Linked DNA regions of Homo sapiens: all the other regions are linked to region 5. Evidence: promoter capture Hi-C in human tissues and cell types (Jung and others, 2019). All regions are on one chromosome and are shown on one strand. The core of a region is centred on a gene start or on the middle of the fragment in contact, and the rest is flanking DNA. Distances in the headings are between cores, read along the strand shown. Region 1 holds the start of KCNJ4 (potassium inwardly rectifying channel subfamily J member 4). Region 2 holds the start of PDXP (pyridoxal phosphatase). Region 3 overlaps TPTEP2-CSNK1E (TPTEP2-CSNK1E readthrough). Region 4 holds the start of LOC105373029 (a long non-coding RNA gene). Region 5 holds the start of SOX10 (SRY-box transcription factor 10). Region 6 holds the start of CARD10 (caspase recruitment domain family member 10). Region 7 overlaps TPTEP2-CSNK1E (TPTEP2-CSNK1E readthrough).

Region 1 (3,899 bases), core at 138-2,637, 470 kb before region 5:
GTGCTGGGGGTTCCCTGACACCCCAGAGTGTGGGGCCCAGGCCTGACAGCTTGGGGTAATGGAGAGCGACAGAGAATAAGAGACTAGGGTTTGGCCTGGCTTTGTCATCTCTGGGTGACCTTGGCCGAGTTTCTGACCCTCTCTGGTACCCAGTCTCGCCATCTGTAAAATGGGGCAGTGGTGACTGAGTGATCGCGAGGGTCCCTCCAATAGGGCCCCCTCAGACTCCCAGAGTGAGGTGCTTCGGGTCCTTGACCGGCGGTACTTTGGGAGAGTACGAGGACCGCTAAGGAGAGGGGCGGACTCCGTGGGACCCCAGAGGGACCAGCTCCCACCCACCCCCCTTCCCGGCTCGGAGGAACCCTCTCCACCTGCCCCCTTTTGGGGGGGGGGCACAAAACCCGGGAGCGGATCCAGGAACGGGTTCTGGGAGGAGCGCTCCTGGGGCGAGGAGGAAAACCCGGGCAGGATCCAGGGCAGGAGCGGGGCCAGCAGCCCCCCGCCCCAGCCCCTGCTCCGCGCCGCGGGCCCCGCGGGAGGGGGCTTGAGGCCGGGTTAGGCCGAGGGGCGGGCAGGGCGGGGTCCCGCGGGCAGCCGGGGCTCCCGGGCTGGGGGGCGCGCGGCCTCCGCAGTGGGGCGCGGGTCACGTGTGAGGAGGGGCGAAAGTCTCGCAAAGCGGGGCGGCGTGCCGCGAGTTGGGAGTTCTCGGCGCGCCGCGGGCGGCGGGAGCTCGGGCTCCCGGGCGAGCCGGGGACGCGGCCAAGGCGGGGGCCGGGGTCCGAGACAGAGGGGGCCGCACGGAGAGTGGGAGGGGGAGAGACAGAGAAGGACAGGGGCCGCGAGGGAGACGGACAGAGACGCGCAGGGGAGAGAGGCAGCGCGGGCAGAGGGAGGCGGGGGGAGGCCGGCGGGCGACCGCGACGGAGACGGAGACCCCGCGGGCAGAGGGCGAGCGGGGCCGCAGGAGGCAGGGAGGCCGGGAGAGGGACCGGGACGCGAGCGCGGCGGAGACCCCGGCGGCAGGAGAGAGACGCGAGAGCGGTCGGGGAGGTGGCGACAGAGCCCGGCCGGCGGGGGCGGGGAGGGCGACCCCAGGCCGGGAGGCCGAGGGGTCGCGGGGCCGGGGCCGAGCGCAGCGGGGCCGGGAGTGGAGCGCAGGGCCGGGGGCAGAGCGCGCGAGCAGGAGCGGGTGACAGCGAGGGAGCTGGGCGCAGCGGGGGACGGCGGCGGGGAGGGCGCCTGCAGCGGGGGTGGGGGGCGCGGGCGGCGGGGCGCCCCGGGCCCCCGGACCCCCGCGCTGTGAGCCCGGCCGGGCCCGACGATGCTGACGCCGAGGCGGCGCCGAGGGCGCGGCGCGGGGCAGCGCTGAAAGTTGGGCGGCCCGCGGGGAGCGGCGCGGGACGGCCGGGACGCGCGGAGACCCCAAGACCCACGCGCAGACCGAGCGGCAGCCGGGGAGGGGAGCGCGGGCCGGCCGGCCGAGTTCGCGGGCAGGGGGCGCCGGGACTCCCCTTTCCGCGCCCGGGACGCCGCCCGCCGGATCGCGCCTTGGGATGTAGCGCCCGCTCGCCGCCTCCCGGACTCTCGTCGGACCCTCCGCCCAGCGGTAAGCCGCGCTCGCCCACCCCGGGCGCTGTCCGTCAGTTTGTCCCGCCGCGTGCGTGTCTGTGTGTCCCGGGCCCGCCGCTCCGGCCCCGCCCGCTCCGCACCTGATCCGGAGCCGGGTCCCGGCTGCCCGGCGCCGCGCGCGCGGTCCCGTGACTCCCCGGGAGCGGGCGGGCTCCACGGGCGGGCTCTGTCCGTCTGTCCGTCTGGGAGCGTCGCGGTCTGGGTTGTGGCCTGGAAAGGGGGAGAGAGGTGGGTGGAAGGGGTCTTGACCTCCTGCCCCAGCCATGACCTTTCCCTGCCTCCACCCACCCCAGTTGTCATGCCGGGGAGCTTCAAGGCAGGTGACTTGTGGCAAGGTGGGGGATGCCGCCTTTCCGCCTCCCCAGCTGCATCCTCGTTGCAAATGGCCCTGTGATCTGAAGAACGAAATCTCACTTCTCATGTTTTGAGCACCTACTTGGCGCCACACGACCCCAGGGCGCAGGGGCAGGGATTGGTAGAGGAGGCACTGCACGTTCACAGTGATAGACACAGGCTGGGGAGGGAGGCAGAGGCTGCTTTTTCCTCCGTGTGTAGGGAGCACCCCAAGGCAAGAGAGGTCTCAATGAGCCTCCCGCAGGGAGAACTTCCCCTGCAACCTGCCAAATGTCCCCCCACCAGTGTCAGCCTCCCTGCCCCCTACCCACATTTCTGCCCCCAGTGTCCCTGCTTCAGGATGGACAGGATGCAGGGAGTTGGGAGGTGGCAAGCTGGGTGGGGTGGAGCGGCGGGCTAGAGGCAGGGCAGCCTGGCCAGCTGACAGAGCAGGGCCTCAAGAGCAGTAGAATGTTCAGCAGCAGGTTTGGGGGAAGTGGGGAACTCAGGGAGGGAGGCCCAGAGAAGGGTTGGAGCCGTGTGTGTGTGTGTTCTCCCCCACATCCAGTCCCATGACCTCCATGGCTTCAGGCCTTTTGGGGGCAGTTAGCAGGACTTTAGGGGCCCAAGAGCCTCACTGTGGCCCTGGCTTGGCCTGTGCTGAGGGGAGCAAAAGGTGGACCAGGGCAGCTGGGGTAAGAGATGGGTGCAGCATGGTGGGAACAGAGACTGTTGGCCACTGAACTGACCCATATCCCAACTGGAGTTGGAAGGGCTGAGCCTAGAACATTCCACTCCATTCTCACTGGGAGGAGGGACTCTTTCTGGGGTGTTCCACACTGGGCAGTGGGTCTCATATGTCCTCCATTCAGCCTCCCAGAAATTAGCTCAGGTGGCTGGGAGAGCAGCCCCCTGGGCTGGTCACTCTCCTCCCAACCGTCATCTTCCACATCTGTGGCATGGGGACGTCACTCCCTGCCCCAGTGACCTCCAAGGCGGGCCCTGGGCTCAATGAGCAGTGGGCTGTTCACAGGCTGGGGAAAGCACTGGGGAGATGGGAGTAAAGACTCACTTTACCTTAAGAGAGATGAACAGCTAGTGGGTGGAGGTGGGCGTGGGGCAGTGGGAATATGGCGGAAATAGCTGACGAAGGAGGAGTGTCCAGGATTAGAGGGGGAATCTGGGGTACAATTCCTCATGGCCCTTTGGGTTATCCTTGAAAAGAAAGCTCTTCTCTCAGAAAATCCTCTGGAGTGGCTGTGACCAGGCAGAGCTGGTTGAGTTTCTGCTGGGTGACCTTGGGTGGGTGGCTTGACCTCTCTGAACCTCAGTTTCTTCAACTGGAGAATAGGTATGATGATACTGACTTCATCAGGGTGTTGAGCAGTTTCCAGACTGTGTCAGGTCTGTGAAAGCCGCGTGCGCCAGCCTGGAGCATAGTAGGTTCGTAGACATTTGCGAAAGAGAGAATGAAGTAGCTCTGGGAGATGCTGTGAGAAGATGTCTTAGCTTAGGATAAGAAGGAAGGGGAGGAGGAACAGTGTAGGCTTACAGGGCGGGCTGGTTCTTAATGTGGATCTGGGGGAGGCGGGGGCGAGTGCTAAGGGGGGTGTGAGGAGGAGGGGGCCCCTCTGCGGGGACCACTGAGTCACGAGGACATGTAAGCGACATGACAACCGGCAACATGGTAACCAGGAAACTAGCGGCGGTGGGAAACAGAGCTGGAGCAGTGTGGGGTGGGGGTGGCGGGTAGGCCTGGCAGTGCCGGGCTCAAGGGGTCCGGGGAGAAGCCAGGCTGGCCCCTCAGAGTGAGGAGGGGAGGCCCCAGGGCCAGGCTAGCTGGGGAAGAGATGGGGGCCCTGAGGGGAGGGAGGGGAGGCACCTCGGGGCTGTAGGGCAGGGGGCTCCTCCTGCACCACCCCAGGCTCCTCTCTGCT
Region 2 (3,558 bases), core at 283-2,782, 330 kb after region 5:
ATCTGTTCTTGGGCAGCTCACTTCCCTTCTCTTAGTCTCAGTTTCTTTCCTCTTCTTTTAGAGATAAGGTCTCACTATGTTGCCCATGCTGAAGTACAGTGGCTTTTCACAGATGCAATGATAGCACGCTACAGCCTTGACCTCCTAGGCTCAAGCAATCCTCCCGCCTCAGCCTCTCGAGTAGCTGGGACTACAGGCTGTTGCCACTGCATCCGGCTGCCTCAGTCTCTTTACTTGAGAAATGGGACAATAACTTCCATCTCCAGAGTAATTTGGAAACCAAAGAAGAACACACACAAAGCTGTTTCATTAAGTTCTCTGTAACATGGGGGACTCTGGCTACAACTTACATCATCTGAACACCTACTATGTGCCAGGCACTCACCCTGATCACCGTCACCGGGCATGCTGAGCACTGCCATTTCTCACCCAGGCAGAGATGCTTGGAGGTTATGTAACTGAACACGATTACACAGCTGTGAAGCTGGAGCTGGACCTGGAACTGAGGTCAAACTCCACCGCCTTTGCTCCCCACACACCTGCCTACACCCTGCCTCTGGGAATGGTGTTTCAACCCTCACACAGGGGGACAATCCTCCCAGGCTTCCTCTCCAACCCCACCCCGATGGTGGGTAGGGCAGAATTCCGCCCAACTCCCTAAGTTACAAAGGGCCTCAGTTTCCTCATCTGTCCAACAGGGACCACACTGCTGCGCCTCACAGGATGACGGCTACAGGGATCAACCGCCCCCCACACCAAAGCACCCTGGGCCTCCCTCGCACTCTCCTGTTCCCCACCTGCCACCTGGAGACGCCTCTTCCCCGCCCCTCACCCTTAGGCGTGGAGGCGAATGCGCAGGTCGCCCCCATCTCAGTTTCCCCGCCATTCCCGCGCTCACCAGGGGTCCGGCTGCCGTCGCTCAGCGGGTGCCATGGGTCACGGTCGGTGGCCACGAGTAGGCACTCGGGGTCGCGCAGGTGCGCGCACGCCTCCCTCAGCTTGGCGAAGGAGAAGTGCTCGTCGTAGCCCACAAGCACGGCGCGCACGCGCGGGGCCGCGCCGTCCCCCGCGCTCGGGTCCCCGGCCAGGCGCAGCCCCGCGGCGCGCAGCTCGGCGCGCAGCCCCTCGCCGCCCAGCACGAACACGGCGCCCGGCGCGTCCGGAGGCCCGGGCAGGCGCTGGCGCAGCAGGCGCGCGGCGCACAGCGCGGAGCTGAAGAGCTGCTCGGCGCGCAGCCCCCCGAAGCCGAGGCGCGCGAAGCGCAGGGCCAGCTCGGGCCGCGCGCGCCGGCTGTTGTTGCTCACAAACAGAGCCGCCTTGCCGGCCCGCGCCAGCCGCTCCAGCAGCTCCGGGGCGCCCGGCACGGCGCGCTCGCCGTTCCACAGCACCCCGTCACAGTCGAACAGGACCCCCTGCGCCCGGCCCAGCACGTCGCGCAGGGCCGCTCCGCGCAGCCTCTCGCAGCGCGCCATGCAGCCGGCCGGCCGCCGGCCTCCCGCGCCGCGCTCTCTCCGCGGGCACGGCGCGCTCTCCCTGGCACGTTCCACGCAGCCGCCAATTGGCGCGCTGGAAGGACCGGGGGGCGGGGCGACGGCGTGGCCTGCAGCCAATGGGGGCGAGAGTCTGGGAGAGGAGCGAAGCCGCGAGCTAACGGAACTTGGAGAGAGGGGCGGATTCGTGGCCAACACCGAGGGGAAGGGACCAATGAAGAGCTAGCTTGATCCTTCTCCCCGTCCCTGGTTCTGCTGGACCAGTCGCCGCCGAGTTTCAACGCCGACTACACTCTTACGCGGTGGGAGACTGACGCTCTTCTTAACCAATAAGAATCTACAAACAAAACGCGAAGCGAAAGGCCCCGTGCCCTCCAGCCAATCAGAAGCTTAGGCGAGCTGGTTGCTGGGAGAAAAACAGATGTTAAATGAACTGCCTTTGGGTCGAATCTCATTGCCCCCTGAATCGTGGACGCTCCAGTTCAGAGCGAAGTCCCAAGAAACGTGTGTGTACGATGGGGTACGAGGCACATGGTGTCTTCTTGGGTGCTGGAGCCCTCGGTCTAGACCAGTAGTTCTTCACACTGCGTTAGAGTCCCCTGGGAACTTATTTTCAGATATCATTTACATATAGTAAAATGCATAGATCTTAAATGTACAGTTCAATGTCTTGACAAATGCTTTTGAAATCACCGATGTGTAGCAGGACAGATCCTCATGTAAGTGTTTTGGGTGAAGACTGGGCATTTTTTGGTTTGTTGGTTAGTTGGTTTAATTCCAGGGATTCTACCGTGAGCTAGGATAGGGTAGGGAAGCACTGGGCTAGAGGCTGGTAGGCTGTCACTGCAGCACGCCCCGGGAGGGCAGGATCCAGAATGGTCGTGGCCAATTGCCCAGAATAGTAATGGGGTGACCCAGGTTGGCTGGGTCCCTGTCTTAGGGAGGAGGCCTTGTGATCTGGAAGCAACCACAGGTCTTGGGACCTTTGAGGAGCCACTGGTCTGCAGTGTGGGGATGAATGAATTGTGAGCTGTGGTGTCACAGTTTTGAAGTTGTCTGCCAACTTCAGATAAGGCTGTGACCCCCAGGAGCAACTGGAGCTCCAACGACTTGGGAAAAACTGTACCTTGTACCCAACCTTGGAAGCTCAACTAGCTCCTATTCCCCAAGTGCCCTAAGCCTTTTGCTCCTGGCCTTTGCATAGATAGTCTCCTTGGCCTGAATGTTCCTTTTTCCTTTAAAAATTTCACCTTCAGGGCCGGGCTCGGTGGCTCACGCCTGTAATCCCAGCACTTTGGGAGGCTGAGGTGGGCGGATCACGAGGTCAGGAGATCGAGACCATCCTGGCTACGGTGAAACCCCGTCTCTACTAAAAATACAAAAAAAAAAAAAAAAAAAAAGAAAAAAATTAGCTAGGCGTGGTGGCGGGTGCCTGTAGTCCCAGCTACTCGGGAGGCTGAGGCAGGAGAATTGCTTGAACCCAGGAGGCGGAGCTTGCAGCGACCTGAGATCGTGCCAATGCACTCCAGCCTGGGCAACAGAGCGAGACTCCATCTCAAAAAAAAATAAACAAAAAATAAAAAATAAATAAAATAAATAAAAATAAACAAAATTCACCTTCAGGTCAGCTCCTGAAAGACTTCCCTTAAATATCACCTTCTCCAGGAAGCCGTTCTTAACCACCCACCCCATACCATGAGTCTAGGTTATATGGCCACCCCTAACTTGGCTAATATGGGCTCCCAGTGCAATGACACTTGATTTTTTTTGTTTTTGAGACAGGGTCTTACACCGTCACCCAGGCTGGAGTGCAGTGGCATGATCACTGCTCACTGAAGCCTCCAACTCCTGGGCTCAAGCGATCCTCCTGCCTCAGCCTTCCTAGTTGCTGAGACTACAGGCACACGCCACTACACCCAGTTAATTAAAATTTTTTTTTTTGTAGAGACAGGGTCTCACTATGTTGTCCAGGCTGGTCTAGAACTCCTGGGCTCAAGTGATCCTCCTGCCTCAGGCTCCCAGTGCTGGGATTATAGGCATGAGACACCGTGCCTGGCCAGACACTTGA
Region 3 (3,641 bases), core at 667-3,166, 360 kb before region 5:
CCTAGAAACACCTCGCTAGCACCCAGTGTGGACCCAGAGGAAGGGGCTCCTAGGAGAAGTGGCCCAGGGCCCAACTCGGAAGGAAGCAGCCTTCAGAATCAGCCGCTGGAGCTGCGGGACTCGCCCACGGCCCTCAGGACTCCCTGGTAAGGTCCACGGAAGCTTCGGGGAAGAGGCAAGTGAAGTCTTCCAAGAAACTGCCATAATTCAATCAGAAAAAGAACCCTGTTAATTTAGTCAAAGAACCAGTTAATTGAATTTCTTTCCAAATCCAGGCCTATTCAGAAAGCCAGTGAATTCAATGCCTACTAAATTTAAAGTCAACTCTCCAAGTAATCTAATGAATGGCATGGCCAGCTGAGTCAAGTCCCCAATAACTCTGCTTTGAAATTGTCCAGTCCCGTGACCATCATTCAATCGGCTTAGCTTTTCTTCTTTTTTTTTTATTAAAGTGTAATTTGGGGAAACAATGGTCCACTTTGGTCAAACGACCAGAAAGTTGACGCTGAAGAAGGCCGGCGCCAGTAAAATGAGAAATTGGTCATGCCTAGCTGGGGGTGGCATTGTGTGGTGACAGGGCTCAAGGAGGGTGTTAGGTCCCCACTGTACCCCAGCCAGTGAGCCTGGGGTGTCCTTCTCGCACTCTTTGCCTCCATTTCCACATCTGCAAACTGGAGAGGCAGCTGAGCATTCAATCAGGAAGCCAAGGGGAGCGCCCTCCCAAGGATGCCTGGTGGCAGGTCCCCTTCCCTCACCATTCTGCCATCACCCTGGGCCTTGTGGGAGAGGAGCCTGCAGATTCTGTTGACCCAGTTTCCTTCTCTGTAAAATGGGGAAATTGGTCATTTAATTTAATTCGATTTATGGAATGGAAAATATTTTCACAGACATCAAAATTCAAAAGTTGGGCGGGCACGGTGGCTCACCCCTGCAGTCCCAGCACTTTGAGGCTGAGGCAGGCAAATCGCCTGAGGTTAGGAGTTCGAGACCAGCCTGGCCAACATGGTGAAACCCCATCTCTACTAAAATACAAAAAATCAGCCGGGCGTGGTGGTGCACACCTGTAATCCCAGCTACTTGGGAGGCTGAGGCAGGAGAATCGCTTGAACCTGGGAGGCGGAGGTTGTAGTGAGCCAAGATCACACCACTGCACTCCAGCCTGGGCAACAGAGTGAGACCCTGTCTCAAAAAAAAAAAAGAAGTTACCAAAGAGGGTACAGTACAGTCTCCTTCCCTCTCAGTTTCCCTTCCACCCTGTCCCCAACCTTTGTATTTTCTTTCCTAGGAACAGTCTCTTACTATTCTTAGTCATTTTTATATTATATTATTAGTATTTTTCTTATTGATTTGTAACTGCTTTTTATATACTAAAGAAAGCATGGGCTGGGTGCGGTGGCTTACGCCTGTAATCCCAGCACTTTGGGAGGCCTTGGCGGGCGGATCACGAGGTCAGGAGACCAAGACCATCCTGGTTAACATGGTGAAACCCTGTCTCTACTAAAAATACAAAAAATTAGCCGGGTGTGGTGGAGGGCGCCTATAGTCCCAGCTACTCGGGAGGCTGAGGCAGGAGAATGGCGTGAACCCGGGAGGTGGAGCTTGCAGTGAGCCGAGATTGCGCCACTGCATTCTGGCCTGGGCAAAAGAGCGATACTCTGTCTCAAAAAAAAAAAAAAAAAAAAAAGCATGACTCGCAAATATTTTTCTTCTGGGCCCATCCAGAGATGCTGTATGTACATAGAAGCAAATACACATATATTTCAAGGGGCACTTTGAATCTAAGTTTGCTGGGGCTCTTTTCAAGTCAATGGTCCGGGTGAATCTCTGTGGTCTGAATCTTGAAGCTGGAGCTAGGACCAGAGCTGGGTGACCTCTCACCATTCTGGGCTGGGAACGACTCACCCTCAGTTCCATCTCTATCCGTTTATCTTAGGCCTTTGAGGGGAGGGACTGCACCTGAGTACAGCACCCAGGCGTCTTCTGCAGCCCACAGAAGGTTCAGCTTAGGGCTGGACGCAGTGGCTCACACCTGTAATCCAAGCACTTTGGGAGGCCGAGGCGGGCAGATCATCTGATGTTGGGAGTTCGAGACCAGCCTGACCAACATGGAGAAACTCCATCTCTACTAAAAATACAAAATTAGCCGGGCGTGGTGGTGCATGCCTGTAATCCCAGCTACTTGGGAGGCTGAGGCAGGAGAATCGCTTGAACCCGGGAGGCAGACGTTGCGGCGAGTCGAGATCTCACCATTGCGCTCCAGCCTGGGCAACAAGAGTGAAACTCTGTCTCAAAAGAAAAAAAAAGAAAAGAAAAGAAGAAGAAGAAGGTTCATCTTCAGACTCCTAGTCCAGAGCTCTCAGCAATCCTCATCTTGTAATGCTGTCTACAGACTCCAAGTATGCAATGGGCCAAGCCACACCCTCTCCCTCTTCCTCCTGCCCAAGGGCAGAGATTCATGGAAGGTTGTCTGTGATGAGGAATGGAGTCGTTGCCCCGGCCCAAATCGCACCCCAGGCCTGACTCAGTTGGTGGGCCTCTGCCTTTACTGCCTTGGCAAACTCCTACACATACTTGAAGGCCCAGCTGCAGTGAAGCTCCTCTGGGAAGACTTCGTGACTCCCATCCCTTCTCTCTTATGGCTCTGATCACCTTGTCCATGTCTACACTTACCAGAGCAAGAACCGTGTTTTCTGGTTTCTCGGTCCTCCAGGATCTCCCAACGTGAATTAGCAACCGATGCATCAAAGGTGGCACCTCGGCCGGGCACGGTGGCTCACGCCTGTAATCTCAGCACTTTGGGAGGCCGAGGTGGGCAGATCATGAGGTCAGGAGATCGAGACCATCCTGGCTAACATGGTGAAACTCCGTCTCTACTAAAAATATAAAAAAATTAGCCGGGCGTGGTGGCAGGTGCCTGTAGTCCCAGCTACTGGGGAGGCTGAGGCAGGAGAATGGCGTGAACCCGGGAGGCGGAGCTTGCAGTGAGCTGAGATTGGGCCACTGCACTCCAGCCTGGGCGACAGAGCAAGACTCCGTCTCAAAAAAAAAAAGGTGGCACCACCACCATTTTGGGGCCTCCTCAGTTTCCTCATTTGAAAAGGAGGAACATAATATAAGGCCAACCACAGAGGGTTGTTGAGAGGATTAAATGAGTCAGCTCATGAAAAGCCCTTAGAACAGTCCCAGGCGCAGAGCAAGGGCACAATGTGTAGTTGCTATCGATTATGACTAGTCTTGGGATCTTGAGCAAATCCCTTCTCTTCTTCGTGGCCTCCGTTTTTTGGTTTTTGTTTTTTGTTTGAGATGGAGTCTTGCTCTGTCACCCAGGCTGAAGTGCAGTGGCGCCATCTTGGCTCACTGCAACCTCCGCCTCCTGGATTCAAGCTGTTCTACTGCCTCAGCCTCCCAAGTGGCTAGGACTACAGGCGCCCGCCACAATGCCCGGCTAATTTTTGTATCTTTTAGTAAGTATGGGGTTTCACCATGTTGGTCGGGCTGGTCTTGAACTCCTGACCTCAAGTGATCTGCCCGCTTCAGCCTGGGATTACAGGTGTGAGCCACTGCTCCTGGCCAGTTTTTGAGGGTTTTTTTTCTTTTTTCTTTTCCTTTTCTGTTTTTTGAGATGGACTCTTGCTCTGTTG
Region 4 (3,490 bases), core at 722-3,221, 450 kb before region 5:
GACTTCACAGAACCTGGCACGTAGTAGGACTGGATGTGTACCAGGTGGAAGCAAGCGTGTGACAGTATTTCTTCGAGGCAGGACAGTAGCATGCCTTGTTAGCGTGCTTTGATGCCCATTGCCCAGGCCCACATCCTGGCTTTACCACTTACAAACTGTGTGACCTTGGGCAAGTTGCTGAACCTCTCTGTGCCTTGGTTTTCTTCTAAAACAGGGGTAATGATAATTTCCTCTGAGATCATTGTGAGAATGATAGGAATCGATCAGGGTAAAGTACTGAGTAAATGCGTGCTCAATGCTCAGATGCTCAGCCTGAATTTTTGCGATGTCAGAGGGCTGCCTGGTGAGGGAGGGGCTAGGTGTACCACAGGATTTCGTGGTCCAGAAGAAGGTGGGGAGGGGGACAGCTTTCTTGAGCCCCCACCATGTGGCATGCGCTTTTGGGACAATCCACATCAGGCCCTGCAGGTAGGCACTGCGATGCTCCTTTCACCATTGGAGATACCGAGGCTCAGAGAATCCAGTGACCTGCTAGAGCCAAGTGGGACTCGGCTTGGTTCCAGCCCAGCTCTGTGTGGAACAGCACCGAGGCTGCTCTTCTTGCCCACCAGCTCCCTAGTGCAGTGAATGAAGACAAACTGGGCAGGGCCCTGTGGATGGGGCCCAGGCAGGCTCTGGGATGCTGCATCTGAAATTGAGGGGAGGAAATCAAGAGGGAGCAATGTTCAGCCTTGAGTAAAATGCACCTTATCGATCACTTACTCTGGGCTGGGCACGTGGTGTGCATGATCCCATTTGTCCTCATTACAGTCCTAGGAAGTCTGCTCTATTATTAGCTTCTCCTAAAGATGGGGCATGCAGGGACTAGAGAGGTTAAGTTCCTCGCATAAGGTCACATGGGCACAAAGTTGTTTAGAGGCTCCAGAGCTGAAGCTGCTGCACCAGGCGGGGGGTTCCTGAGACTCATGAAGAGGAGGGAGTCAGGCCTCCCAGGGACAGGGGACTGCAGGGCCTGCAGAGGGCAGTGGCAGGTGGGGACCCTGCCACAGTTTCCCCTGTGGCTCAGTCTGTCTTTGGCTCCCCTTACTCTTTGAGGGGTACAGCTCAAAGAGCCGTGGGCCTGGGGTCTTGAGTTCTCTTCCTCCCTGCAAAGTTCCACTTGTTGGAGTGGAAAGCCCCTCCAATCAAACCAGACCTGAGGGCCTCAGCTGGAGTGGGGACAGACTCTGTGCTCCACAAGGGCTGGGAAATGGGACAGTGGTGTTAATTCTGTCTATTTCTTTTTTTTTTTTTTTCCCGAGACAGAGTCTCGCTCTGTTGCCCAGACTGGAGTGCAGTGGCACGATCTTGGCTCACTGCAGCCCCTGCCTCCTGGGTTCAAGCGATTCTCCTTCCTCGGCCTCCCAGGTAGCTAGGATTACAGGCACTTGCCACCACGCCTGGCTAATTTTTGTATTTTCAGTAGAGACAGGGTTTCACCATGTTGGCCAGGCTGGTCTCGAACTCCTGACATCAGGTGATCCACCTGCCTCGGCCTCCCAAAGTGCTAAGATTACAGGTGTGAGCCACCGTGCCCGGCAAATTCTGTCTATTTCTTCCAGGAAAATCCTCTACCCTTCAGAACCCATCCTGGGTGCGCTGAGCTATGCCCTGGGCTGCGTCCCCTGACCTCCACTGCCCTGTGCTGGCTCCCTCTGGTAGGACATTTGCTGGAGAGTCAGCCTCCCCATCTAGGCCCAGGAGGGCTCAGGGATGGCTGGGGCTAAGGAGACTCAGGAGCGCCCCCCATCTGTCACCTGACTCCAAGCTCTGTCTGGGTGCCTCGTTTTGTACATTTTCCCACCTCTCCTGCCAGGGAGCCATGATGGTCTCCCCATCTTGCAGACAGAGGGAAGGAACTTCTGACCAGAGCATGTTAGTGGTGGAGTCAGGAGTGGAAGGGGTTCCCCAGCTCCCAGTCCAGCATTCTTGGTCATCAGCTTCTGCATCTTTGTCATCACCATTATCAACATCAGTTTTTGCACTTTACCTGCAATGTAATAACGCATGGTGGTTGTCATGTTCATTCAGCAGCGGCCTGGTGAGGAAGGTACCAGTATCGTCATCTCCAGTTTGCAGATGAGAAAACTGAGGTTCAAAGAGGATATGCTGGGAGGTGACAGAGCTGAGACTGAGAGCCAGGTCTTGCCACCCAAAACATATGGGTTTAACCAGCACATTTTCTCATATTGAACAGAGGCCATGTGCTGCAGATAGACAGTGAGGCCTGAGGGCTCAGAGTAGCAGGGTCAGAGAGCCTCAGGGGCTCAGGGTAGGTCTGGAGGGATGGGGAGAGCCTGGGGGTCCCAGGTTGAGCAGGGTGATGTGGCAGGAGAAGGGGTCCCGAAGCCAGAGGCTGGGGACCAGGGTGAGCCAAGGACCTGGAGCTAGTCAGACTCAAGTTAGATTTCCAGCTCAAGCTCAGCATCACCCCTCAACCCCCCGGCATCTCTGTAGCCTGCAATTCTTCAGCTGGGGAGGAGAAATAACAACCCTTCTTGTTACTGTGGTAGGTGCTTAATACATACTTGTTAAATACACAAAGGATACAGTGATGCTTCAATGAGAGAGAGGAGGCAGCGCCTGGCATGGAGTTGGCAGAAATTCCCTGAGAGGGGCTGGAGAGAGAGGATGACTGGTTCCTCGGATCCCCAAGGCTGAGCTCTGTGACCTCAGGCCAGTCACATCACCTCCCTGGTTGTCTCACCCAATAATAGTCACCTCGAAGTCTGGTGGTGGGATGACATGAGATGCATGACAACCTGGCAGGCTGGCACTGGCCACTGCTCTCTAGGCGTGAGCTTCCTGCTCCTGTCTAAAGGAGCAGAGTTTCAGGCAGGGCTGGAGCTGCTGCCTGGCTCTGGCAGGGCCTGGCGGAGGTGCCCCTGCAGTGGCCATGGTGTCTCTGGTCAGTGGCACGGATCTCGGGGAGGAGATTTGCCCTCGAAGCCTTCCAGGTAGCTGGGACCTGCCGAGGCTGCTGCAAGCTGATCAGCTTTTCTTTTGCAAAGGGAGTTGTGGGCAAGGACAGATAAGTTAGTGTCCTAAAATTGTCGGGAAAACCTAAAAGTTGACAGGGTTGGGGTGGTCTTCCTGCCTCCTCTGGACCCCCAGGAGGCAGAGTCTCCAGCCCCTCCCTAATTCCTCAGGATGGGGCAGGATGGCTGGTGTCAGTGGTGAGGCCTGAGCTTCCTTCCACAGCTGTTGACTTACTGTGCCACCTCGGACACGGTGCCATGCCCTGTTCTTGGCCTCGGTTTCCCCAGCTGGCTAATGAAGTCTGGACTAAAGACTTGCAGATTTTGGATGTTTACAGCACAGTAAAATTAAGAGAAAGCCGGATGCAGTGGCTCGTGCCTGTGATCCCAGCATTTTGGGAGACCGAGGCAGGAGGATAGCTTGAGACCAGGAGTTTGAGACCAGCCTAGGAAACATAGTAAGACCCCATCTC
Region 5 (3,670 bases), core at 105-2,604:
CTCCGAGGCCCCAGACACACTGGCCCGATTGTCTGGCTGGTTGTGTGTGTGAGCATGTGTGTGTGTGTGTGTGTGTGTGTGTGTGTGTGTTCCAGTGTCTGCTCCCCCCACCCCCAACATGCCTCTGCCTCGTGTGACTACCTCATTGTGTCCCATTTCCCACCCCCTACACCCCTTTGGACTTTCCCAAGCATGAGGCCTTGCCTCCCCAGACCCTTTGCAGCCCACTCCAGACAGGACCCCTTGGGGTGGTCTTGGGGCTTTGCCCTGCTGTTGAGGAGCTCAGAACGTCACATGGTTGCCAATGCGACCCCAGCTCCATTACATAACCCACATACACCCCACCTCGGCCTCAACACCCCGGCGGGGCTGCCCTCAGTTAAGAGAACAGCACTGCGACCTTTGGAGGAGAGGCCAAGGAAAGAGAGAGAAAAAGGTGTCAACGGAGGATGGGCAGGAAAGAAAAGGGGAGGGAGGGAGAGGTGGGCAGAGGAGGGAAGAGGCAGGGCAAGTCCCCACCCCTTGTTGGGGTGGGGGAGTAGAGGACTTCGTGACAATCAGGACTAGGACTCCCCTACCCTCTCCCAAGACAGGGTGAGCCCAGTGTGGAAGGAGCTGGGTCCCAGTAGGTAGCAACCCAAAATGCCTCTAAGACCTACTGAGAGAGGGCCCCCAACCTGTCCCACCTTGGCCTCCTGGCAGCTTTAGTCTTGTGTTTCCACCTTGAACCAGACCAGAACGCGCGTGTGCTGGGTGTCTGCAGAGAAGGGACCAGGGGTCAAGCTGGGGCTCTGCACTTCTCAGAGGGATCCCTGAGAAGTCTCTCTTACTGTGCAGGATGGGGCAGAAAGGGCTGCCTGGGAAAAGGTAGGAGGCAGGGTGAGGAGCTGGGCATCAGTGCCTGGCACACACTAGGCACTCAACAGGATTTCGCAGACGAAGCAGCTAGGGCCAGCCACCCTCACGGGCCCCCAGGACCCTCACCGCCTTCACGTCTCTCCCTAGTCCCCTGCCAAGTGCCCATCCTGCCACCTGAGGCAGACGTTAGGAGTCCTGGTTGGGCCCAATTTTCTTCCATCCAACAGGTTCTGACCCTCCAGCCTACATCTCTTCCTTCCTCGGCCTAACCTCCCCTCCACCTCCCAGACTAAGCCCAAGATAAGCCTCAGCAAGATGGGCCTGGGCAGTAGGGCAGGGAGCTGGGTGGGGGGGCCTGGGCTCCGGGTGGAGGAGCCCTGAGTGTTGGGGATGAAGGAAAGCCTGGAGGCTCCACCTTCTGCCCTTCCCTCCCTCCTCTCCCCTCCCCCCTCTCCCCCTCCTTCCTTCCCCAGCCCTCCGCAGCGGCTCAGGCTCAGTCGCTCAGTCAGTCTCGGGCTGTCCGGCCAGGGTGGTTGGTGGTAAGGATTCAGGCTCCGTCCTAACGAGGCCGTGGCCTGAGGCTCAGGGCCCCCCGCCCCTCCCTCCCAGCCCACCAGCGTCACCTCCCAGCCCCGAGCTGGACCGCACACCTTGGGACACGGTTTTCCACTTCCTAAGGACGAGCCCCAGACTGGAGGAGAGGTCCGAGGAGGTGAGTGCGCAGCCTGCTCCTCCCTGGCCCGCCCAGGCCTGGGACCCTGCTGTGAGGTGGAGAGAGGCGACACCCCGCCCTTGCCCCCCACCTGGCTCTCCTCTAAACCCCGTTGGGGCAGGCTGAGGGAAGAAGGAAAGGTGAGAGAAAAGGTGGGAAATTCCAGGGGCCGGGATTAGAGCAAAATAAAGGCTCCGTTTTTTTCTTCCTTATCATCAACAAACCTCCACCCAAAAAAGGAGGCTAAAAAAAAAGCCACCCACACCAAGAGACGGTTGGGACCAGGTGGTGGGAAGACACAGAGGCGGGACGCACCCACCTAGAGTCTGGCATGTGCGTGGGCCCCAGGGGCCAGATGGGTTTAGCTGGAGCAGGAAGGGCCGCCACCTCGGGGCTGTGCCCACGTCCTGTCTCGGGCCGCCCTCGGGGCTGCGCGCGCGGCCGCTCCATCGCGCCCTCCTTCCATCCAGGTGGGCGTTGGACTCTTTGCGAGGACCCCGGCGGCTGGCCCGGGGGAGGCGGCCGAGGCGGCGGCGGCGGCGGCCGGGGGCGACATGGCGGAGGAGCAGGACCTATCGGAGGTGGAGCTGAGCCCCGTGGGCTCGGAGGAGCCCCGCTGCCTGTCCCCGGGGAGCGCGCCCTCGCTAGGGCCCGACGGCGGCGGCGGCGGATCGGGCCTGCGAGCCAGCCCGGGGCCAGGCGAGCTGGGCAAGGTCAAGAAGGAGCAGCAGGACGGCGAGGCGGACGATGACAAGTTCCCCGTGTGCATCCGCGAGGCCGTCAGCCAGGTGCTCAGCGGCTACGACTGGACGCTGGTGCCCATGCCCGTGCGCGTCAACGGCGCCAGCAAAAGCAAGCCGCACGTCAAGCGGCCCATGAACGCCTTCATGGTGTGGGCTCAGGCAGCGCGCAGGAAGCTCGCGGACCAGTACCCGCACCTGCACAACGCTGAGCTCAGCAAGACGCTGGGCAAGCTCTGGAGGTGAGCACCCGACCGCCCCCCGGGCTCGGGCCCTCTAGCTTCGGGTGGATTCAGGGTAGCCGAGGCGGCCCGGCCTCCTGCACCTCAGAGCGGGACTGTCTGGCAGTCCTCCTTGGATAGGGCTGGAAGACCAGGTGTGGGGGCCGCGCCCGCCCTTCCATCACAAGGACCCTGGAACTCGGAACTCCAGCGGCCTAGGCCGGGTCTCCCTACGGGGCGGCGGGCAGGAAGGCGCCCCCTCGTGGTTGGAATTTTGCGGGTGGCAGACCGTGGGGCCTGGGGCTTTGGAGGGAGGGAAGGAGGCCTTCACTAACTCCTGCCCACAGATACGCACACTATGCCACCAGCTGCTGTGGTCAGGAGGATACGAGGGAAACGCTTGGAAAGAACCAAAGGGTTGGCTGGAGATTCAGGGAAACTGAGGCAGTCAGATGGAGAACTCAGGGGAGGTTTAAAGAAAACGGAATTCAGATGAGAGTCTTTGGAAGAGTGAGGGATGAAGAACTGCGGGACAAATCTGCTGCTGCGGGACCTCATCCTATCCTAGGGCTCTTCCCTGGGACTTTCTGACGCCACCCTCCTTTGAGTTGGGGGCTTCTTCATCCTCCTAGGGAGAGGACACACAGTAAGGGGCTCCCCCTCCTGCCCTGCCCCAGAGTCACCAAGCTGATCTCTTTCCTCCCTCTCCCAGTTCGGCGCCATCTTCCCTGCCAGGGCCCCACCCCAACGTTGAGCAACCTCTTCCCCACTGCCCCAGAGCTGGAGCTGAGCACTCTGGCCAGAAGGAAACCTTGGCCTCCTTCCTGCCCAGGGGCCCTCAGAGTCCCAGGTTCCCTGGGACCAGCCCACACCTCTAGGAAAAACATCCCCCGCAGGGAGCAATTATCCCACCCTCGACTCAGGTCTGGGGTTCAGCCAGGCCTCCTGGGGATGTGTGGAACAAGACAGTCCCCCACTCCCACCCGGGAGTGCCAGAGCAGCTCTGAAAGAGACCAGGGACTCCAGGAGATGTGAGCCGGTAGCAGTCACCTGATTCTCGCTAGACTGACCAAGAGACAGGCCCAGAAAGGCAAAGGAATCACAAAGGTCACATAGAAGTTGGTAGCAGAGCCAGGGCC
Region 6 (3,750 bases), core at 25-2,524, 470 kb after region 5:
GTTAAATCTGTTTCTTTACTGCTGGGGCTTTTTTTTTTTTTTTTTTTTTTTTTGAGGGGGAGTCTCATTCTGTTGCCCGGGCTGCTGGAGTGCAGTGGCACGATATCACTGCAACCTCCGCCTCCTGGGTTCAAGCGATTCTCGTGCCTCAGCCTCCCGAGTAGCTGGGATTACAGACGCGCACTACCACGTCTAGCTAATTTTTATATTTTTAGTAGAGATGGGGTTTCGCCATATTGGTCAGGCTGGTCTCGAACTCCTGACCTCAGGTGATCCACTCGCCTCGGTCTCCCAAAGTGTCGGGATTCCAGGCATGAGCCACCGCCCCCGGCCTTAATTTAAGCAGGGCTTTTCAGAGCCTTTATTGATTGAAACCTTAATTCTTTGGATAAGTAATACATATGTCCACGGCATCTAATTCAGAAGTTGTGGAAGGCGATTAGGGAGCTCACACCTCTTTCCTGTACCGGTTGTGCCTCCTCTGTTCCTCCCTGGCAGCAGGTACCTGGCAGCTTCTAATGCATAGCGAGACTGTATCGCATGCACCAGCAGATACCGTGTAGACTCGGCCAGTATCATGGTAAGACACCACCGGCCTCCCAGGCAGGAGCGGGAGTATGGATGGCTAGTCACAGCCCGCCCCCAGCATCTCTGGGACCAACACCTGGAGGAATACCCTTTGAGAATTGTGGGGTCCCTGGTCCTCAAGTGCCACGGGAGTTTGCGTAAGAGGGGAGTTGGCAGTGCTGCCCTGCAGGTTCAGACCCCCATCTTGCAGAAAGCCCCCATGACCTCTGCCCATTGCTGTCCCCCGCGGGGCTGTCCTGCGCTCCAGGGAAGCTCCCGCGCCCGCAGTGCATGTGGGGACCCGAGAAGGGCAAGCCCAGCTTGAGTGCCCGCGGGCTGCGCCGGGCGTGAGCGGCTAGCCCCGCACGGGCGGGCGCGCTGTGGGCGTGGGGAGGCGATGCGCGTGGCCCGGGGAAGGTGTGTCGCGGCGCGCGGGGGGTGTGAGCGCGCCTGCCCGCCCCCGCCCCGCCCAGAGGCCGGGCAGGTGTGGGCGGGCGGCCAGGACCCCGCCGAGCCGGGCTGGAGAGCCGGCGGGAAACAGGAAGCAGGGGGAGGCGCAGCCGGACGGCCGGGAGGGAGGGCGTGCAGACGGACGCGCGGGGTGGCCGGGGGCCGGACGCACGACCCGGGGCGGGCGGCAATGTGGGGAGGCCCGGGCAGCCCAGGAGGCTGCGGGGACGGGGGCGGAGCCGGGGGCGCCACGGGCACCGCCCCCCTGCGCCGGCGGAGCCGCCGCCCGAGTGCGGACCCGGGAGCCCGAGGCGACTGTAGCGTGCGGGGTGAGTCGCGGGGAGCTCGGGGCGCGCCCCCGACGGCGGGTCTGCGGACGACGCCCCGGGGGTGCTTGGCCGCACATCTAGCCCTAGGGAGCCCTGGTCGACCCCCGTGCGCCTCTTGCCCGCAGACCCTGAGGACACGGCCATGCCGGGCCGGGCGGAGGCGGGGGAGGCCGAGGAGGAGGCCGGGGCCGGCTCGGGGTCTGAGGCGGAGGAGGACGCGCTGTGGGAGCGAATCGAGGGCGTCCGGCATCGGCTGGCTCGCGCCCTGAACCCGGCCAAGCTCACGCCGTATCTGCGCCAGTGCCGGGTCATCGACGAGCAGGACGAGGAGGAGGTGCTGAGCACCTACCGCTTCCCGTGCCGCGTCAACCGCACCGGTGAGCCGCGGGTCCCGAGTGGGCCACGACCTGGGCCGGCCGTGCCCTGGGGCGCAGCGCCCACAGCCGTGTAGCGCGAAGCTAGGGCTCTGCTGCCCTGGGGCTCGGTCTCCGCATCAGTAGAGTGGGCCGGCTGGGTATGCCCACCAGCCTGCCTCCTCCCCACCCACCACTGCGCCTTGGCGGTCCGCGTTGCCCACACCGGGGTCAGAGTTTTGTCTCTTGGGGTTCTCTCCCACTTCCTGGGTCCACATTAGAGCAGAAGGTTGGATGTGGCTGCCAGGGCCGGCTGGGCCTGGGACCTCCCGGTCACAGCCGGTGGACTTGGCACCTTTCCTGCGCTCTTTGATCTCCGAGTTCTGTCTGTCCCCTCCTCTGTGCACCATACACTCCTGGGGGAGTCCTTTTTCAAGTGTCAAGATCCGTCTCAGCTTTACGTGGGTCCCCACTCCCACAGGGTGTGCCTTTGAACCAGAACTCAAAAAGGCATGATGGAATGGTCTTTAATGGTGGAATTTCAGGCATGGCCAATGGGAGAAGTATTTTCTTTGCTTCTGGGGATAGAGGGGGCTTCTCTGTGCCATTGAAAAGGCAGGCTGCATTTGCGGGCCGGCATCTGTGTCTGTGGGGGGTGTTGGGGAGCTCTGGGAGCCCAGGAGTCATGAGGGAATGTGCTCCCCTGGCTGTGGCAGAATGGCTCTCTTCTCTTCCCTGATGTGTTGGGACAGGCCCCTGTGTGTGTCACTGGCTCAAAAATCTGGGGAACGTGGGCCTGGAGCATGGTGGGGGCAGAAGCAACCAGGCACCTGGGGAGGCCTTCCCCTAGACCCTGGGTACATCCCCCCACTACTCTGTAGGGCGCCTGATGGACATCTTGCGCTGCCGTGGCAAGAGGGGCTATGAGGCCTTCCTGGAAGCCCTGGAGTTCTACTACCCCGAACACTTCACGCTGCTCACGGGCCAGGAACCCGCCCAGCGCTGCTCCATGATCCTCGGTGAGTGGATCTGCGGTGGATGCTGGCACCTCGGACTCCAGTGCACAGGCTCCTTTCCCCATCCCTGTTAGGGAGGCGCTCCCACTATGCCTGTTGAACAGTAAGGGAAACTGAGGCATGGAGAGGCTGAAGGGGCTTGCCCAGGGCCCCACGGTAGGCTGAGGGTGGGGCTGGGTGCTAGTGCCGTTATTCCAAGTTCAGAGCCACATGCTTAAGATGGCTCTTTCTTCGTGATACTGTTTTCAGACATATGTCTGACATACACAGATGTATAGTTTTTTATGTAAAAAAATACAGAGGCTCCAGGTGACTTTGAATTTTTTTTTTTTTGAGACAGTGTCTTGCTCTGTCACCAGGCTGGAGTGCAGTGGCGCGATCTCAGCTCACTGCAACCTCCGCCTCCCAGGTTCAAGCGATTCTCCTGCCTCAGCCTCCCGAGTAGCTGGGATTACAGGCATGGGCCACCACGCCCTGCTAATTTTTGTATTTTTATTTTTAATAGAGATGGGGTTTCATCATGTTGGCCAGGATGGTCTTGATTTCCTGACCTTGTGATCCGCCTGCCTCGGCCTCCCAGAGTGCTGGGATTACAGGCGTGAGCCACTGCGCCTAGCTGAATTTTTTTATATAAAAAACACAAACACATACACACACGCACACACGCCTACGTGTGTATTTTGCTTTTTCTTAGAACAACTGATTTTAGTGATTCTTTCACCTCTGTTACATACACTTGTTTTAAGTGACTGCATACTGTTCATTAGTGAAGTTAGGACATAATTCATTTAACCCATTTCCAGTTGATGGATACCTAGGTTTCCAGTTTTGTATTATTACAACGATACGGGAACATCCTTGTATGTGCGTCTTTGTGCAAATGTGTCTCAGGCGAAGAGGTTCTGAGAAGAATTTCTCAAAGAGTCTGTGTATTTTAACTGTTAAATCAACATACCTCCTACCAGGAATGTGTAAGGGCCCATTTGAATCCTGGGGATCATGTTTAAACGTTTTTACCATTCTGATATGTAAAAA
Region 7 (3,941 bases), core at 739-3,238, 410 kb before region 5:
AGGAGACTTTCCCCCTTGATTTTGAAAGCAAACAGGTGACTGGAAAGAGCCAGATATACAACTTTAGTATGTAGTCAGCAAAAGATAGGATGGGGAGGGGAATATTTAAATCTTGCAGAAGAATGATCTTATGCCTTAAAAGGCATTGCCTAAGCTTGTATTTAGCTAGGTTACTTGAATTGTGTTTAATTCAGAGCGCTCATTGGAAAAAGTGGTATGGTGTACTGGTCTAGTAGTGGGTATAGTTATTTGTGTGTGTATATATATATAGATAGATGTGTGTATACACACGTTCAGTGTTTTCATTGCAGAGAGTTAGTGCAGGTAAAGATAGAACAGTTTATTAACAGTTAATTAATTTGCTGAAATCTTTTTTTTTTGGTGCAGTTAGGCCTGTCAAATTTTTACAGATATTTAAGGTTGTACTGGTTAAGTAGTAGTAATAGGAGAAATGGATAGCAATGCTTAGTCTTGCTTAATTAAAGTTTTTAAAAATTCACTTTCCTTATAACTTTTTTTCAGATCAGGATGTTTTTAAAAACCACTTTGCAGATGACAGTATCTGTTAATATTGAAACTAAAACTAGTATGTTATACTTTAAGTTCTTACTAAGATCCCTTAACTGACCTTAACTGATTTAGGATGAATTCAGGCAGTTTCTAGTTAATGACACTCAAATATGCTATATGATTATATTTTTATAGTACTTTGGTCTCTAATCCTATTTAAAATTGGTAATTTATGAACAATTTCAGCAAAATGAAATTATTTCCTTTACAAGCTTCCCAAGTTGAAGAGTTTAGGTTGTAACCTTAAATATAAACTTTGAATATTCCAATCTTTTTCTTTCGCTTAACTTGGAAGCATCTTTCCACAGCTAAATTAGGAAAGTTGGGTTGACCATTTAGCCTCGTGGGTGTGACCCCTAGTAATTTCCTTGAAACAGTGTTGAAGAATTTAGAGCATTAAAAATAAAAAATAAAAAAACCTGTAGCTTTTTGATTGTTAGTAGATGGCTATGCAGAGTTTTCTCCACTTGTCAGATTAAGAAAAAATACTGTGTGTAAAAGACAGAGGAAAAACTTTCAGAGAAAATGTAAACTTCTAGCCAGGTCTTGGAGATAATTTTGTAGTTTTCAGGGTACAAATGCATTGGCCAGAGAATAGCAATTTAAGTTGAATTTTTTAATAACTCCTTATTTGGACACCTCAGTAACTTGGGAAAAAGTAGCTTTGTTAGCAGTATGACAAATTGTGTATAAATATAATTTTTCTGTGTTTTTGAGGACTTGAATACCTTATTGCTTTGTATTATGGTAGATACATATTCCATATCAACAGTGTAAGATAACCTATTAAGCAGAAGAAACAAAGAGGCTGTGCTGTTTCTAAAAGTTAACAGTTTGAGTACATCAGGATGTAAAGAAAAATATTCCCAAGTTACAGTAATTGTCAGCAAAGTGGCTGTTGTACCTAGTTAGTTGTACTTAAGCACAGATTACTGTGCTTTTTATTAAGCAGTGTATAATGTGTCCTATTTGCTAATTTCAAGATCTATAGGTAGTGGTAGAATTCATGGTAGCTTTAGTCACAAATCAGTGTGTAATTAGTGACCTAAAGAACATCACACTTCTATTCCAGCCTTTTGTAGCAGTGTGGTTCCCACTGGGTTTCAAAGATTATGCTCTGGTAAATTTTAAAAGTATCTACTGAAATAATCCCAATAGAAGTTTCTTTCAAAATATGGCTATACTCAATAGCCCACTTGCCTTAGGTGTTAGGGGGTATATGAGTTAAGTTCTGTCGTTTACCTGAGTAAAGATTTTAAAATGTTTTTAAACATTGGAAACCATTTTTGTGAAGTACTTGTCAGTAAGCTTAGCGTGTTCGTAATGCTCACTTTCTTGCAAGCTAGAAGCATTTAGATTATAGTCTTGGATTATAATATCCTCCTTTTCCCCTCCAGTTCTTTGTTGAGAAAGACAATTTACTTTAACAGCAGTGCCATCGGTTTACTGCTGCCTTCTGTGTGCAGGAGTGTGGAGAGCTGGAGGCTTCTGGGAAGGCTTGTGTTTGTGCACACACACCATTCAATTGGAATGGTGATTTGCTGTTAGTAGATTAGAATTTCTATTTTGCTGTATTCTGTTATTAACATCTTTATTGTTACAACCACTTTAACGATTACTGATGAGCGAATTGGTTTTAAGCGATGTAAACCTGGTTTAAAGTATTATTCATTGTCTTAGAGTTTAAGGAAAGTGTTTTGTCTAGTATGTTAGCAGTTTCTAAGTCAAGAGCTGAAGGCATTTGCTGTCAGAGATAGCCCTAGGATGCCCAGCATTTTTGTTTTGGAGGGTCGTAAGGAGAGTGAGTATAAATCCAAATAGTGCAGTTTTTGTTTTGCTTGTGCTGATGAACTTTATGGTGTGATTAAATATGATTTTTTTATTACGCTCTTGAAATTGTACTCTTGAAGTTGCAGAATGGCAATTAGATGGCAGTCACTGATAGCCATGTAGAAGTTTTGATGAACATGCAACTTAATTTTAATTTCTGATCAGTTACGTTTAGTGACTGTGGCCAAACATGTGCGTACTGATTCTACACGTGTGCTAATTCCGTGACGTTTATTCACCAGCTATGTGTCGCGTGCCTACTCCTGTGTCAGGCACCTTGTTCCAGGCATTGGGGGCAGCAGTGGACAAGGCAACAGAGTCTCCATCCTGAGGTGTTACTTTTAGAAAAAGACAGTTACAAGCAAACAAACAGGATGGTTTTAGATCTGGACAGAGGTTTTCAGAGGAAGTCATCCTTGAGCTGTCACAATGCTTTGGGGTTAGGGTGTGCTGGGTAGTCAGGGATGGCACATTTGGGGTGCCTAAGGATTGCTGTGGCCCTGGGAGCCTAGGACAGTTGATCACAATTGACTATTAGAGTCAGTCTCAGAAGCTTTCCTGGAGAAAGAATTGCTGCTGTTTTGCCAGGAGGGTTTCCTTCCCCATCTGACCACACAAGAAGACCCCTTGGCCTAGAATGCCTGCCCTCATCTCCAGGTCTCCCAGGCTGTTCACCCTCCCAGGCAAAGTGGAAACTTCCTCTGTCCTAAGATCGTTTCCCACTGAACCTCCTTCATTGTCCTTCACTGCAGAGAAATAATCCTACAAGGTCTTGTGTGGAGACTGATGGTAACTTCTTTAACCCAGATAATTGAGAATTGGAACCAAAACATCTGTCTGTTAATAAATATTTTCAGTAACTAAGTTATGCTGTTTCCCTGAGTGGGAAATAACACTCCATCATATTTCTTTTTTTTTGGGCAAGAGGGGGGAGTCAAAGTCTCGCTCTGTTGCCCAGGCTGGAATGCAGTGGCGCGATCTTGGCTCACTGCAACCTCCACCTCCTGGGTTCAAGTGATTCCCAAGTAGCTGGGATTACAGGTGTGTATTACCATGCCCAGCTAATTTTTGTATTTTTAGCAGATAAGGGGTTTCACCATGTTGGTCAGGCTGGTCTCCAACTCCTGACCTCAAGTGATCCACCCACTTCGGCTTCCCAAAGCATTGGGAGTACAGGTGTGAGCCACTATGCCCGGCCTCACATCATATTTCTAATCCCGAGACTGTAGAGCTGGTGTCTCTTTTTGGAAAGGATGTCAGTAGAGAAGTGGAGTTCCCCAAAATTACAGTTTCACATATTAGTCAAGTTTCTAAAATACAGTAATAATGTTGAGAGCTGACGTAGGGACTAACTTAGTTTTTGTTTTTTTTTTTTCAAATTCTCACCTAACTTTGATTTTGCTAAATAAGGACATTAAAAAAAACCCAAAAAACTCCACTATTGCATATTGCCACTATTTGATTTTTTAAAAAATAAGCGTATTTTAGCATCTGCAAGTAGGAAGGGCCTCAAATAAATGAGTCTTTGTTCTTGGCCAGGG

What was found. Contacts are between HindIII fragments. The study calls those that stand out against the background at their distance.
Region 1: a contact is called between the fragment with the promoter of KCNJ4 here and the fragment with the promoter of SOX10 in region 5, in 3 of the 25 tissues and cell types used here (IMR-90 fibroblasts, lymphoblastoid cells and spleen).
Region 2: a contact is called between the fragment with the promoter of PDXP here and the fragment with the promoter of SOX10 in region 5, in 2 of the 25 tissues and cell types used here (hippocampus and psoas muscle).
Region 3: a fragment that was not itself captured here is called in contact with the fragment with the promoter of SOX10 in region 5 in 2 of the 25 tissues and cell types used here (dorsolateral prefrontal cortex and spleen).
Region 4: a fragment that was not itself captured here is called in contact with the fragment with the promoter of SOX10 in region 5 in 2 of the 25 tissues and cell types used here (dorsolateral prefrontal cortex and spleen).
Region 6: the fragment with the promoter of CARD10 here is called in contact with the fragment with the promoter of SOX10 in region 5 in 1 of the 25 tissues and cell types used here (lymphoblastoid cells).
Region 7: a contact is called between a fragment that was not itself captured here and the fragment with the promoter of SOX10 in region 5, in 5 of the 25 tissues and cell types used here (dorsolateral prefrontal cortex, heart left ventricle, liver and 2 more).

Annotation. Positions count from the first base shown.
Region 1 is chr22:38,452,687-38,456,585 of GRCh38, reverse strand. It overlaps KCNJ4 (potassium inwardly rectifying channel subfamily J member 4), which reads left to right and starts at 1,387. Exons shown (of 2, transcript NM_152868.3): 1 at 1,387-1,606. RefSeq lists an enhancer at 3,491-3,899. The HindIII fragment of the contact is 19,664 bases long and covers 1-3,899 here.
Region 2 is chr22:37,656,697-37,660,254 of GRCh38, reverse strand. It overlaps PDXP (pyridoxal phosphatase), which reads right to left and starts at 1,532. Exons shown (of 2, transcript NM_020315.5): 1 at 899-1,532. The coding sequence starts at 1,472. It overlaps PDXP-DT (PDXP divergent transcript), which reads left to right and starts at 1,878. Exons shown (of 6, transcript NR_109952.1): 1 at 1,878-2,000. RefSeq lists enhancers at 1-329, 1,156-1,657, 1,846-1,895, 1,906-1,975 and silencers at 1,036-1,145, 1,346-1,655. The HindIII fragment of the contact is 18,911 bases long and covers 1-3,558 here.
Region 3 is chr22:38,343,034-38,346,674 of GRCh38, reverse strand. All of the region lies in intron 4 of TPTEP2-CSNK1E (TPTEP2-CSNK1E readthrough), which reads left to right. It also overlaps the pseudogene TPTEP2. Among named protein-coding and RNA genes, the nearest start is that of CSNK1E, 27 kb to the right of the region's middle. RefSeq lists an enhancer at 1,668-2,167. The HindIII fragment of the contact is 5,046 bases long and covers 1-3,641 here.
Region 4 is chr22:38,433,501-38,436,990 of GRCh38, reverse strand. The region is part of intron 1 of KCNJ4 (potassium inwardly rectifying channel subfamily J member 4); the gene reads left to right. It overlaps LOC105373029 (a long non-coding RNA gene), which reads right to left and starts at 2,647. Exons shown (of 3, transcript XR_938251.3): 1 at 2,568-2,647; 2 at 2,030-2,127; 3 at 606-688. RefSeq lists an enhancer at 3,066-3,490. The HindIII fragment of the contact is 4,472 bases long and covers 1-3,490 here.
Region 5 is chr22:37,982,239-37,985,908 of GRCh38, reverse strand. It overlaps SOX10 (SRY-box transcription factor 10), which reads left to right and starts at 1,354. Exons shown (of 4, transcript NM_006941.4): 1 at 1,354-1,570; 2 at 2,041-2,552. The coding sequence starts at 2,125. It also overlaps a transcript of POLR2F not described here. RefSeq lists enhancers at 1-293, 2,248-3,085. The HindIII fragment of the contact is 28,697 bases long and covers 1-3,670 here.
Region 6 is chr22:37,516,939-37,520,688 of GRCh38, reverse strand. CARD10 (caspase recruitment domain family member 10) reads left to right here and starts at 1,274. Exons shown (of 20, transcript NM_014550.4): 1 at 1,274-1,723; 2 at 2,581-2,718. The coding sequence starts at 1,489. The HindIII fragment of the contact is 30,090 bases long and covers 1-3,750 here.
Region 7 is chr22:38,389,302-38,393,242 of GRCh38, reverse strand. All of the region lies in intron 1 of TPTEP2-CSNK1E (TPTEP2-CSNK1E readthrough), which reads left to right. It also overlaps the pseudogene TPTEP2. Among named protein-coding and RNA genes, the nearest start is that of TPTEP2-CSNK1E, 7.6 kb to the left of the region's middle. The HindIII fragment of the contact is 3,040 bases long and covers 469-3,508 here.